Linked DNA regions of Homo sapiens: all the other regions are linked to region 1. The links are contacts of gene promoters, found by promoter capture Hi-C in human tissues and cell types (Jung and others, 2019). All regions are on one chromosome and are shown on one strand. The core of a region is centred on a gene start or on the middle of the fragment in contact, and the rest is flanking DNA. Distances in the headings are between cores, read along the strand shown. Region 1 holds the start of ZNF823 (zinc finger protein 823). Region 2 holds the start of ZNF443 (zinc finger protein 443). Region 3 holds the start of ZNF799 (zinc finger protein 799). Region 4 overlaps ZNF44 (zinc finger protein 44). Region 5 holds the start of ZNF442 (zinc finger protein 442).

What was found. The method cuts DNA at HindIII sites, captures the fragments that hold promoters and counts their contacts. A contact is called where the count stands out against the background at its distance.
Region 2: the fragment with the promoter of ZNF443 here is called in contact with the fragment with the promoter of ZNF823 in region 1 in 5 of the 25 tissues and cell types used here (IMR-90 fibroblasts, adrenal gland, aorta and 2 more).
Region 3: the fragment with the promoter of ZNF799 here is called in contact with the fragment with the promoter of ZNF823 in region 1 in 2 of the 25 tissues and cell types used here (liver and lymphoblastoid cells).
Region 4: a fragment that was not itself captured here is called in contact with the fragment with the promoter of ZNF823 in region 1 in 1 of the 25 tissues and cell types used here (dorsolateral prefrontal cortex).
Region 5: the fragment with the promoter of ZNF442 here is called in contact with the fragment with the promoter of ZNF823 in region 1 in 7 of the 25 tissues and cell types used here (IMR-90 fibroblasts, aorta, lymphoblastoid cells and 4 more).

The regions. Positions count from the first base shown.
Region 1 is chr19:11,737,515-11,740,214 of GRCh38, forward strand. It overlaps ZNF823 (zinc finger protein 823), which reads right to left and starts at 1,432. Exons shown (of 4, transcript NM_001080493.4): 1 at 1,303-1,432. The coding sequence starts at 1,305. RefSeq lists enhancers at 806-935, 1,326-1,405 and silencers at 1,006-1,155, 1,416-1,610. The HindIII fragment of the contact is 18,648 bases long and covers 1-2,700 here.
Region 2 is chr19:12,439,623-12,442,322 of GRCh38, forward strand. It overlaps ZNF443 (zinc finger protein 443), which reads right to left and starts at 1,399. Exons shown (of 4, transcript NM_005815.5): 1 at 1,290-1,399. The coding sequence starts at 1,292. RefSeq lists a silencer at 1,078-1,167 and an enhancer at 1,578-1,847. The HindIII fragment of the contact is 16,773 bases long and covers 1-2,700 here.
Region 3 is chr19:12,399,933-12,402,640 of GRCh38, forward strand. It overlaps ZNF799 (zinc finger protein 799), which reads right to left and starts at 1,339. Exons shown (of 4, transcript NM_001080821.3): 1 at 1,136-1,339. The coding sequence starts at 1,138. RefSeq lists enhancers at 634-723, 1,444-1,493 and a silencer at 954-1,113. The HindIII fragment of the contact is 18,323 bases long and covers 1-2,708 here.
Region 4 is chr19:12,284,843-12,287,542 of GRCh38, forward strand. All of the region lies in intron 1 of ZNF44 (zinc finger protein 44), which reads right to left. It also overlaps the pseudogene RPS2P53. Among named protein-coding and RNA genes, the nearest start is that of ZNF44, 8.7 kb to the right of the region's middle. The HindIII fragment of the contact is 8,559 bases long and covers 1-2,700 here.
Region 5 is chr19:12,364,367-12,367,066 of GRCh38, forward strand. It overlaps ZNF442 (zinc finger protein 442), which reads right to left and starts at 1,317. Exons shown (of 6, transcript NM_030824.3): 1 at 1,167-1,317; 2 at 436-877. RefSeq lists a silencer at 851-1,030 and an enhancer at 1,131-1,230. The HindIII fragment of the contact is 16,775 bases long and covers 1-2,322 here.

The DNA of each region.
Region 1 (2,700 bases), core at 182-2,681:
GCCTCCCAAAGTGCTGGGATTACAGGCGTGAGCCACCGCGCCCGGCTTTTTTTTTTTTTTTTTTTTTTTCACACTGGAGTCAAGTGGTTATTCTTTGCTTCCTCACATGTGAAATGTTCACAAACACAAAAACACATCTTTTAAAAAGAGCCATACATTGCTATGTGAAAAGAAAGTGACAATTAAAATAATGCCTCTGTTTGAAATATTGCCTGAGGGACAAAGAGTTCATAAAGTTGCTGGGAATTGATGAGAGACAGTTAGCCTGGGGAAGGCTCTGAAAACCAAGAGATTTGCTGCCAGCCCTAGGAGGAGTTAGGATGAGGGGATAGGGTGGTGGATTTGAGACCCTGCTGCCCACATCTTTGGAAGACTCGGAGGGAAACCGGTCACCTTTGGGAAGAAAGAAGGGACTGGGGAACCCACAGATCACAGCTTCTCTTCCAAAGCACAAAGCCCACACACACGAGTCTGGATTCTGCCTGGTGACCCTCCGTTGTCACCGTGCAGCGTCCTCACCGGGTTCACAGGAACTGCGAGCCAGGCTGGAGGCGAGATTGCAGTTAGATATTAACCAGGTGCCCTCAGCCCCGCTGCCTCACGGGGCCGCCTCCCTGAGAGTCAGGTCACAGCAGACGCTGACCGCCGGCTTCCTCATCGTGCCCGGGGATAAGATCTCTTGAGAGTTGCTCACGGGTCGCCTCAGTTCTTTCTCGGATCCTGAATTGCAGCGGAAAGGCTGGCGCCAACCAGGCTGAAGACCCCACAAGGGAACCCACTCAGCAGAATGCGGTTTCTTCACCTCCAGTCCCAGGAGTCACCTCTCACTTCTCCACCAACCAGCGACCCCACACTCCAGCCGTCCCTGTCCACACCTCTAAACACCCCATCCCCAAACCTCTCAGGGAGGCGGATCTGGGGTGTCCTCCCCTCTCCCCCATTAAACTGTTTCTGCTGCAGCCTTCGGCGTCTCGGTGCAGTGACTCGGGCCGTGAACCTGTGCCGGTTACAACTGCACAATCTGGGGAGACGCGGAGCTGCGGGCGCGGAGCTGCCCAGAGAGGGCGCCGGGGCCGGGGCCGCAGCGGCCGAGCAGGGACGGGACAGGACGCCCGGGGTCCCGGCTGCCGCCCCAGCCCCATCTTGCGGCCCAGGGGACCAAGGGCAGAGCTGCGCCAGGGGCACTGGGATTTGCAGACCCCGGAGTCGCCCAGGGCGAGGCCCGGGTCCCCTCACGGTCGGTTCCGGCCGGTTCCAACCTGCCCCTTCTTTGCCTCGGGACGCCGGGCCCCGCACACTCACCATTTCCCAGCTTCCAGGTGTCCGGGTGTCCTCCTTAAAAGCCAGTGTGGGTCCCAGCGCGACAGACGCTGATACAGACCTTCCAGGGCGTCTCTCTCTCAGCGCCAGAGCCAGGACTCAGAGCGCAGGGGCGTGGAGAAGACTCCGCGGGCTCTTTGAACGTCGCACCCTCCTCCCTGCAGCGTGCCTGATTGACAGTTCTCACAATCCCCGCCCCCTCATCCCTGATTGGATAGTGCTCCAGGTCCCGCCCCTTGGTGGCTGATTGACAGAAGAAGCGATCTCACAGTGCTGAGTGGAGCCGGATGAACAGGTTCCAGGCACGACCCTTGGCAAGGCGGGCTTCCTCCCAACGGAGTGACCTGACCCCTCCCGAAGTGACGTTTGCATTTTAGAATTTCCTGATTGTATTCAGTGGGTTCTTCCTGCTTTTTCCTCCTGGACAGGGACTCACAAGTGTGTGCAGGGAATTCCAGGCTCCCTGTCCAGTGGAGCCATTCCCGGACCTCGGAGCAGGAGGGGAGCCCGGGGCACACAGGCCACCCTGCAGCAGGAGGGAGGGCCTGATGTCCTCCAGGGATCAGGAATTTGGGATGAGGCTGTTGGCGACGTTGCCAAGCCTTTCCCTCACCTTATCTCTCAATCTACTCATTTTCAGCCCAGAAGATAAAAACAGGACAACAAAATAAAATAGTTGAGTATGTGGAAAAACTGGAATTATATGGCAGCAATATTTCATAAAGAATCAAAAGAGAAGAAAAGCAAAAACTTGAACAAGCTCAGAGAAGCAGCCTACTGCACTCACAGTTCACAAGCAGACCCCCTTTCAGGAGGTCAAACATATCCCCAAGCTGGGAAGCCAGGCAATGATTCCTAAAATGGAGCTCCGGGGTGGATCAGAAGCTGGTGATAAGGGAGGGACAATTAAGAATTTTACTCTGAGGTCTCAAAATACCTGTCCCCTCTGCACAGCGTGGAAATGCTCCCTCCTTATGCCATTAAATGTTAATGAATTAAACGCTCCAATCAAAAGCCAAGACATCACACTTTGAATTTGAAAACATTAGCCTTTCTCCATATGTTTATGAAGTAAAAATACTAGACTTAAAAGCGTTATGGCCGGGCGCGGTGGCTCACGCCTGTAATCCCAGCACTTTGGGAGGCTGAGGCGGGTGGATCACCTGAGGTCGGGAGTTTGAGACCAGCCTGACAAACATGATGAAACCCCGTTTCTACTAAAAACGCAAAATTAGCCGGGTGTGGTGGCACGCTCCTGTAATCCCGGCTCCTCAGGAAGCTGAGGCAGGAGTATCGCTTGAACCCGGCAGGCAGAGGTTGCAGTGAGCCGACATCACACCACTGCACTCCAGCCTGGGCAACAGAGCGAGGAAAAAAAAA
Region 2 (2,700 bases), core at 149-2,648, 700 kb after region 1:
ACTACAGGTGCCAGCTACCAAGCCCAGCTAATTTTATTATTATCATTTACACTAGAGACAAAGTCTTGCCATGTTGCCCAGGCTGGTCTGGAACTACTGGGATCAAGCAATACCTCTGCCTTAGCCTCCCAAGGTGCTGGAATTACAGGAATGACCCACCGTGTTCAGGAACCCAAAACAATTCTTTCAAGAAAAAGCCATACATTGCTAGCTGAAAACAAGATGACAAACTAGTGAAATATCGCCTGGGGCCAAACAGTTCATACTGTTGCTGTGAATTAAGGACAGAAGGTTAGCCTGGGGAAGTCTCTGGAAACCAAGAGATTTGCTGCCAGCCCTAGGAAGAGTCAGGATGAGAGAACACAGTGGTGGATTTGAGACCCTGCTGCCCACGTCTTTGGAAGACTCAGAGGGGAAACGGTCGCCCTTGGAAAGGAAGAAAGGACTGAGGACCACGGAAACCACAGCTCCTCCCACACACAAACCCCACACACGAGTCTGGATTCCACCTGGTGACTCGTCGTCACCGTGCAGCCTCCTCACCGGGTTCACAGGAACTGCGAGCCAGGCTGGAGGCGAGATTGCAGTTAGATATTAAACAGGTGCCCTCAGCCCCGCTGCCTCAAGGGGCCGCCTCCCTGAGAGTCAGGTCACAGCAGACGCTGACCGCCGGCTTCCCCATTGTGCCTGGGGATAAGATCTCCGAGTGCTGCTCAAGAGTCGCCGGAGTTCTCAGATCCTGAATCCCAGCAGAAAGGCTGGCGCCAACCAGGTTGAAGACCCCACGAGGGAGCCCTCTCAGCAGAATGCGGTTTCTTCACCTCCTGTCCCAGGATTCACCCCTCACTTCCCCACCAACCAAGGACGCTACACCCAGCCGCCCCCGTCCAGACCCCAAATCCCTCAGGGAGGCGGATCTGGGGTGTCCTCCCCTCTCCTCCTGTTAAACCGTTTCTGCTGCAGCCCTCGGCGTCTCGGTGCAGTGAGTCGGGCCGCGAACCTGTGTTGGTTACAGCCGCACAATCTGGGGAGACCCGGGGCTGCGGGCTCGGAGCTGCCCAGAGAGGGCGCCGGGGCCGCAGTCGCCGCGCAGGAACGGGACAGGACGCCCGGGGTCCCGGCTGCATGCCCAGCCCCACCCTGCGGCCGAGGGCCGACCTACGCCAGGGGGACCCGGGTCCGTAGATCCCGAAGTCGCCCTTGGGGAGGCCCGGGTCCAGCCACAGCCGATTACGGCCGGTTCCACCTAACCCCTCCCCCGCCTCGGGACGCCGGCCCAGCACACGCACCATTTCCCGACTTCCGCGGTGTCCCAGGTCCTACCGACAGCTCCCGCTGCCAATGCGTGTTCCAGCCAGACAAAGGCTGCCTCAGAACTTCCAGGTCGTCTCTCAGCTACAGAACCCAGAGCCGAGCGCAGGTGGGTGGAGCAGACGCCGCGGGCTTTTTCAACCACACACACTTCTCTGGGCAGTGCCTGATTGACAGTTCCCACGAACCCGCCCCACGCCCCTGATTGGATAGGGCGTCAGGTCCCGCCCCCTGAGGGCTGATTGACAGAAGAAGCGATCTTGCACAGCTGAGTGGAGCCGGATGAGCAAGTTCCTGACACAGCCCTTGGCAGGGGGGGCTTCCTCCCTGCTCTTTGATCTGAATCCTCCCGGGTTATATTTGCACTTAAGCGGAATTTCCTGCCCGTACTCAATAGGACCTCCTGCTTCTTCCTCCTGGACACGGACTGACAAACTAATTATATCTTTTTTTTTTTTTTTCCTCGAGAGGGAGTCTTGCTCTGTCGCCCAGGCTAGAGTGCAATGGTGCGAGGCTCACTGCAACCTTCGCCTCCTGGGTGGGTTCAAGCAATTCTCCTGCCTCAGCCTCCCGAGTAGCTAGGATTACAGGCACGCGCCACCACCCGGCTAATTTTTGTATTTTTCAGTAGAGGCTGGGTTTCACCATGTTGGCCAGGCTGGTCTCAAACTCGTGACCTCGTGATCCGCCTACCTTGGCCTCCCAAAGTTCTGGGATTAGAGGCGTGAGCAACTGCGCCTGGCTCCAATTATGCTCTTTTTCAATGAAATTTTTCAAGATTTTTCAATGTACAATTAAATTATTTTTTACTATAGTCACTCTGTTGTGCTAGCAAATACTAGGTCTTATTCATTCTTTGTAACTATTTTTTATACCTATTAACCATCCCCACTTCCCCCATAACTACTCCTCGCTACTACTTTTCGCAGCCTCTGGTAACCATCCTTCTACACATTTTTGGTTGTTTGAGATGGGGTCTTGCTCTGTTACCTAGGCTGGAGTGCAGTGGGGCCATCATGGCTCACTGCAACCTCTACCTCCTAAGCTCAAGCAATCCTCCCACCTCAGCCTCTCAAGTAGCTTCAGATTGTTCACTGTTGGCATATAAAAATGTTATTGATTTTTGTGTGTTGATATTGTATACTGCAACTTTACTGAATTTATTTCTCAGTTCTAATACTTTTTTGGTGGAGTCTTTAGGTATTTCCAGATATAAGATCATATTATATGCAAACAAGGATAATTTGACTTCTTCCTTCCCAATATGGATGCCCTTTATTTCTTTTTTTTTCTTTTTTTTTTTTTTGTCTTATTGCTCTAGCTGGGACTTCAAGTACTGTGTTGAACAACAGTGGTAAAAGTGGGCATTCTTATTGTGTTCCAGATCTT
Region 3 (2,708 bases), core at 89-2,588, 660 kb after region 1:
ACCCACCGTGTTCAGGAACCCAAAATAATTCTTTCAAGAAAAAGCCATACATTGCTAGCTGAAAACAAGATGACAAACTAGTGAAATATCGCCTGGGGGCCAAACAGTTCATACCGTTGCTGTGAATTAAGGACAGAAGGTTAGCCTGGGGAAGTCTCTGGAAACCAAGAGATTTGCTGCCAGCCCTAGGAGGAGTCAGGATGAGAGAACACAGTGGTGGATTTGAGACCCTGCTAACCACATCTTTGGAAGACTCAGAGGGGAAACGGTCGCCCTTGGAAAGAAAGAAGGGACTGAGGACCACGGAGACCACAGCTCCTCCCACACACAAACCCCACACACGAGTCTGGATTCCACCTGGTGACTCGTCGTCACCGTGCAGCCTCCTCACCGGGTTCACAGGAACTGCGAGCCAGGCTGGAGGCGAGATTGCAGTTAGATATTAACCAGGTGCCCTCAGCCCCGCTGCCTCAAGGGGCCGCCTCCCTGAGAGTCAGGTCACAGCAGACGCTGACCGCCGGCTTCCCCATTGTGCCTGGGGATAAGATCTCTGAGAACTGCTCAAGAGTCGCCGGAGTTCTCAGATCCTGAATCCCAGCAAAGGCTGGCGCCAATCAGGTTGAAGTCCCAACGAGGGAGCCCATTCAGCAGAATGCGGTTTCTTCACCTCCTGTCCCAGGATTCACCCCTCACTTCCCCACCAACCAACGACCCTACACCCAGCCGCCCCCGTCCAGACCCCAAATCCCTCAGGGAGGCGGATCTGGGGTGTCCTCCCCTCTCTGGCTATTAAACTGTTTCTGCTGCAGCCCTCAGCGTCTCGGTGCAGTGAGTCGGGCCGCGAACCTGTGTTGCTTACAGCCGCACAATCTCGGGAGACGCGAGGCTGCGGGCGCGGAGCTGCCCAGAGAGGGCGCCGGGGCCGCAGTCGCCGCGCAGGAACGGGACAGGACGCCCGGGGTCCCGGCTGCATGCCCAGCCCCACCCTGCGGCCGAGGGCCGACCTACGCCAGGGGAACCCGGGTCCGTAGATCCCGGAGTAGCCCTTGGGGAGGCCCGGGTCCAGCCACAGCCGATTACTGCAGGTTCCACCCAGCCCCTCCCCCGCCTCGGGACGCCGGCCCAGCACACGCACCATTTCCCGACTTCCGCGGTGTCCCAGGTCCTCCGGACGGCTCCCGCTGCCAATGCGGGTTCCCGCGGGACACAGGCTGCCACGGAACTTCCAGGTCGTCTCTTAGCTACAGAGCCGAGCACCGAGCGCCCAGCGCAGGTGGGTGGAGAAGACGCCGCGGGCTTTTTCAACCACACACTCCTCTGGGAAGCGCGCCTGATTGACAGTTCCCACGAACCCGCCCCACGGCCCTTACTGGATACGGCGTCAGGTGCCGCCCCTCGTGGACTGATTGACAGAAGAAGCGATCTTGCACAGCTGAGTGGAGCCAGATGAGCAAGTTCCTGACACAGCCCTTGGCAGGGCGGGCTTCCTCCCTGCTCTTTGATCTGAATCCTCCCGAGGGATATTTGCACTTAAGCGGAATTTCCTGCCTGTACTCAATAGGACCTCCTGCTTCTTCCTCCTGTACACTGACTGACAAAACAATTATACTTTTTTTTTTTTTTTTTTTTTTTTTTCCGAGAGAGAGAGAGAGAGAGAGAGAGAGAGAGGGAGTCTTGCTCCGTGGCTCAGGCTAGAGTGCAATGGTGCGAGGCTCACTGCGACCTCCGCCTCCTAGGTGGGTTCAAACAATTCTGCCTCAGCCTCCCGAGTAGCTGGGATTACAGGTGCGCGCCACCACACCCGGCTAATTTTTGTATGTTTTAGTAGAGGCCGGGTTTCACCATGTTGGCCAGGCTGGTCTCGAACTCCTGACCTCGTGATCCGCCCACCTTGGCCTCCCAAAGTTCTGGGATTAGAGACGTGAGCCATCGCGCCTGGCTCCAATTATACTCTTTTTCAATGAAATTTTTCAAAATATTTCAATGTACAATTAAATTATTTTTTACTATAGTCACTCTGTTGTGCTAGCAAATACTAGGTCTTATTCATTCTTTGTAACTATTTTTTATACCTATTAACCATCCCCACTTCCCCCATAACTACTCCTCGCTACTACTTTTCCCAGCCTGTGGTAACCATCCTTCTACACGTTTTTGGTTGTTTGAGATGGGGTCTTGCTCTGTTGCCTAGGCTGGAGTGCAGTGGGGCCATCATGGCTCACTGCAACCTCTACCTCCCAAGCTCAAGCAATCCTCCCACCTCAGCCTCTCAAGTAGCTTCAGATTGTTCACTGTTGGCATATAAAAATGTTACTGATTTTTGTATGTTAATATTGTATCCTGCAACTTTACTGAATTTATTTCTCAGTTCTAATACTTTTTTGGTGGAGTCTTTAGGTATTTCCAGATATAAGATCATATTATATGCAAACCAGGATAATTTGACTTCTTCCTTTCCTTCCCAATATAGATGCCCTTTATTTCTTTTTTTTTTTTTTTTTGGACTTATTGCTCTAGCTGGGACTTCGAGTACTGTGCTGAACAACAGTGGTAAAAGTGGGCATTCTTATTGTGTTCCAGATCTTACAGGAAAGGCTTTCAGTTTTTCCTCATTCATTATCATGCTAGCTGTGGGTCTGCCATATATGGCTTTTATTATGTTAAGGTAGCTGCTTCTATACCCAGTTTTTTTTTAGGGTTTTTATCAT
Region 4 (2,700 bases), core at 55-2,554, 550 kb after region 1:
CCCTTGCAAGGTGACAGGCCACTGCGGCTCTGTGCTGGTGCGCCTCATCCCCGCACCCAGGGACACTGGCATCGTCTCAGCGCCTGTGCCCAAGAAGCTGCTCATGATGGCTGGTATCAGTGACTGATACACCTCAGCCCGGGGCTGCACTGCCATCCTGGGCAACTTCGCCAAGGCCACCTTTGATGTCATCTCTAAGACCTACAGCTACCTAACCCCTGACCTCTGGAAGGAGACTGTATTCACCAAGTCTCCCTATCAGGAATTCACTGACCACCTCGTTAAGACCCACACCAGAGTCTCTGTGCAGAGGACCCAGGCTCCAGCTGTGGCTACAACATAGGGCTTTCATACAAGAAAAATAAAGTAAATTAAGCCTGAAAAAAATGTATAAACAGACATGTATGCATTGTTTGTTTGTTTGTTTTTTGAGACAGATTTTCACTCTTGTTGCCCAGGCTGGAGTGCAAAGACGCGATCTCGGCTCACTGCAACCTCCACCTCCCGGGTCCAAGCAATTCTCCTGGCTCAGCCTCCCGAGTAGCTGGGATTACAGGCGCCCGCCACCACGTCCGGATATTTTGTGCTTTTAGTAGAAATGGTGTTTCACCATGTTGGCCAGGCTAATCTCAAACTCCTGACCTCAGGTGATCCACCCACCAAGGCTTCCCAAAGTGCTGGGACAACAGGCGTGAGCCACAGCACCCGGCCTGGTCAGACAGTTAATCCACACATGCTATTATGATTTCCTAGTAAACTGAAGTTTGTCTATAATCTATAACCCAGCAATGTTCCCCCATGTGTTGAAAAATTCATGAACTGTTAGCATGTAGAGACAAAACCAAAAATAACATTGTCAACAACATCAAAAAATTAACTTAAAAGTCAAGTCCTGGCCAGGCGCGGTGGCTCACGCCTGTAATCCTAACACTTTGGGAGGCCGAGGCTGGCGGATCACGAGGTCAGGAGATCGAGACCATCCTGGAGAACACAATGAAACCCCATCTCTACTAAAAATACAAAAAAATTAGCCAGGCGTGGTGGCGGGCGCCTGTAGTCCCAGCTACTCAGGAGGCTGAGGCAGGAGAATGGCGTGAACCCGGGGGTCAGAGCTTGCAGTGAGCCGAGATCACGCCACTGCACTCTAGCCTGGGTGACAGAGCGAGACTCCATCTCAAAAAAAACTCAAAAAAAAGTCAAGTCCTATGAGCACTGCAATGTGTGAGTAAACTGCATGACCCATAGCCTCAGATTTTAGCATGTGTCAAACAGATTGAGGCAAATAAAGAAAACAAAAATCTTTTCAGCACAATTTTTGTGTTTTTCCCCCGTTCATCCTTTCTTGATGTCTCTGAATCAAATCAATATTCTCTAGTGTTCCAATTTAGTTACTAATTATATTTACATTTTAGTGATATCTTTTTGCATTATATTTTAACAGGTTGCTCTGATGAACTAGTTCTCATGCATGAGAATCATCTGAAGGGCTTGTTAAAAAACAGGCCATTGGAGGCCGGGCGCGGTGGCTCATGCCTGTAATCCCAGCACTTTGGGAGACCGAGGTGGGTGGATCACAAAGTCAGGAGTTCGAGACCAGCATGGCCAAGATGATGAAACCCCGTCTCTACTAAAAATACAAAAATTAGCCGGGCGTGGTGGCGGGTGCCTGTAGTCCTAGCTGCTCGGGAGGCTGAGGCAGAAAATTGCTTGAACCTGGGAGGCAGAGGTAGGTTGCAGTGAGCTGAGATTGTGCTACTGCACTCCAGCCTGGGTGAAAGAGCGAGACTTGGTCTCAAAAAAAAGAAAGAAAGAAAACAGATCATTGGGGCTGGTTGCAGTGGCTCACATCTGTAATCCCAGCACTTTGGGAGGCTGAGGCAGGTGGATCTCTTGAGGTCAGGAGTTCGAGACCAGCCTGGCCAACATGGTGAAACTCCATCTCTACTAAAAATACAAAAATTAGCCAGGCGTGGTGGTGCACACCTGTAGTCCCAGCTACTCGGGAGGCTGAGGCAGAGGTTGCAGTGAGCCAAGATTGCACCACTGCACTCCAGCCTGGGCAATAGAGTAAGACTCTGTCTCAAAAATAAAAAATAAAAAAAAAATCATTGGGCCCCATTCCAAGAATTACTAATTCAGTAGCCTTGGGTAATACCCTAAAATGTGCATTCCTTTTATATATATATATACACACACACACACACGTATAATATATATATATATACACATATATGTATAAATTATATATATATATTCATGGAGTACCAGTGCAATTTTACTACATTGATATATTGCCTTGTAAAGTCAGGCCTTTCAGTGCATCCATCCCTGGAGCAACCCCCATTATCCACCAAATAACCTCCCTCATCCCCATGAGTCTTCACTGTCCACATATATACACATTCTTCTTTTTTTTTCCTTGAGACGGAATCTCGCTCTGTCACCCACTGCAGCCTCCGCCTCCTGGGTTCAAGGGATTCTCCTGCCTCAGCCTCCCGAGTAGCTGGGACTACAGGCATGTGCCACCACGCCTGGCTAATTTTTTGTATTTTTAGTAGAGATGGGGTTTCACCGCATTAGCCAGGATGGTCTTGATCTCCTGACCTCGTGATCCACCTGCCTCAGCCTCCCAAAGTGCTGGGATTACAAGCGTGAGACACCGTGCCTGTCCCTGTACACATTCTTTAACTACCACTTATA
Region 5 (2,700 bases), core at 67-2,566, 630 kb after region 1:
ATTGCACTCCAGCCTGGGCAACAAGAGCACAACTCCATCTCAAAAAAAAAAAAAAGAAAGAAAGAAAAAAAGAAGCCATCCATTGCTCTCTGAAAACAAAATGAAAATTAAAATACTGGGACTCTGAAATTTAGCACGGGTGGGGCGGAGGAGGGAGGAGTTCATGATGTTGCTGTGAACTGAGGAGGGAAAGTTAGCCTGCGTAAGGCTCTGGAAACCAAGGGAGTTACTACCACCCCTAGGAGGAGTTAGAATGAGGGAACAGGGTAGTGGATTTGAGACCCTGCTACCCCCATCTCTGAAAAACTCGAAGAGGAATCAGTCACCCTGGGAAGAAAAGAAGGGACTGGGGACCCCGCAGACCACAGCTCCTCCCGTGCACAAACCCCACGCAAGAATCTGGATTCTGATTGCAGTTAGATATTAACCAGGTACCCTGAGCCCCACTGCCTCGCGGGGGCCGCCTTCCTGAGAGTCAGGTCACAGAAGACACTGACCGCCGGCTTCTGCATTGTGCCTGGGGATAAGATCTCGGAGAGCTGCTCGAGTTGCCCAAGTTCTTTCTCAGATCTTGAATTCCAACGGAAAGGCTGGCGCCAAGCAGGGTGAAAACCCCACGAGGGAACCCACTCAGCAGGAGAATGCGGTTTCTTCACCTCCCGTCCCAGGATTCGCCTGTCACTTCCCCACCAACCAGCGACCCCACACTTCAGCCGCCCCTGTCCAGACCCCTAAACACCCCCATCCCCAAACCTCTCATGGAGGCGGAACTGGGGTCTTCTCTCCTCTCCCCCTATTAAACTGTTTCTGCTGCAGGCCTTGGAGTCTCGGTGCAGTGACTCGGACCGCGAACCTGTGCCGGTTACAGCCGCACAATCTGGGAAGACGCGGAGCTGTGGGCATGGAGCTGCCCCAGAGAGGGCGCGGGAGCCGGGGCCGCAGTTGCTGCGCAGAAACGGGACAGGACGCCCGGGGTCCCGGCTGCCGGCCCAGCCCCCAGCTCCCACCCCGCGGCCGAGGGGACTGAAGGCCGGCTGGGCCAGGGGAACTCGGGTCCACAGACCCCGCAGTCGCCGCGGGGACGCCCGGGTCCCGCCACAGCCGGTTCTGGCCGGTTCCAACCAGTCCTTCGCCCTGCCCCAGGACGCCGGGCCCCGCACACTCACCATTTCCCGGCTTCCGCGGTGTCCCGTGTTCTCCCCAAGGTTCCCCGCTGCCAGCATAGGACTCAGCGTGACAGTGCCTGCCACTGACCTGCCAGGGCTTCTCTCAGCTACAGAGCCAGGAGCGGGAGCTCAGAGGGGTGTAGAAAGCTCCACCCTCCTCCCGGCAGCGCGCCTGACTGGCAGTTCCCAAGAACTCGCCCCCAACACTGATTGGGTAGAGCTCCAAATTCCGCCCCCCCAGGGAACTGATTGACAGAAGAAGGATCTTACACGGCTGAGTGGAGCGAGATGAAGCGGTTCCAGACACAGCCCTTGATAGGGTGGGCTTCCTCCCTTCGCTGTGACCTGACCCCTCCCAGGGGACATTTGCATTTAAGCGGAATTTCCTGCCTGTACTCAATGGGCTCTTCCTGCTCCTTCTTCCTGGACGGGGACCCACAAGTGTGTGCTGGGAATTCGAGACTCACTGCCCAGTGGAGCCATCCCCTGGCCTCAGAGCGGTAGGGGAGGCCCAGGCCACACAAACCACACTGAAGCAGGAGGGAAGGCCTGGTGTCCTCCAGGGATCAGGAATTTAGGATGAGACTGCTGGCTCCATGGTCAAGCCTTTCTCCCACCTTATCTCCCAATCTACTCATTCTCAGACCAGAAAATAAAAACACATCAACAATGAAATAAAATTGTTAAATGCATGGAAAATCTGGAATTATATGGCAGTAATCTTCTATAAAGGAATCAAAAGAAGGGAAAAGAAAAAACCTGAATTAGTTCAGAGAAATTTCAGCCACAGTTCAGCAGGAAACCCCCTTTCAGGAGGTTAAACATATTTTCAAGCTTAGAAGGCAGATTCTGACTCCTGAAGTTGAGTCCCAGAGTGTGTAACCAGCAGCTTAGCAGCTGAGTCTCAAACCACGTTTTAAACCTTTTTTTTCTTCTTCTTTCCCTTTTCCTCTTTCCCCTCCTGATCTCAAGATAATAACTTCGAGATAAACTGCATAGATGTTACCTCTCATCTTAAAATACAGCCTCAGAATGTGCTGTGAACTTCCACTCCCTTTCCTTTCCCATACTACACTGCCATGCCTTATGCACATTTATTTTTATTTTATTTTTTTGGAGACGGAGTCTCACTCTGTCACCCAGGACAGACTGTAGTGGCTCAATCTTGGCTCACTGCAACCTCCGCCTCCCAAGTTGAAGCAATTCTCCTGCCTCAGCCTCCCGAGTAGCACACTGGACTACAGGTGCACGCTGCCATGCCCAGCTAATTTTTTTGTATTTTAGTAGAGACAGGGTTTCACCATGTTGCCCAGGCTGGTCGTGAACTCCTGAGCTCAGGCAATCCGCCGGCCTCGGCCTCCCAAAGTGTTAGGATTACAGGCGTGAGCCACCACGCCTGGCCTGTGCACATTTATTTACCTAAATACTTATTAAGCACACACCATGCTCTCTTATTTGGTCATATATTTCCTTAGAAGCTTCAGGGGTTGGATCTTGTTAGGTACCAGGCACCTCTGGAATTCTCTTTCCAACA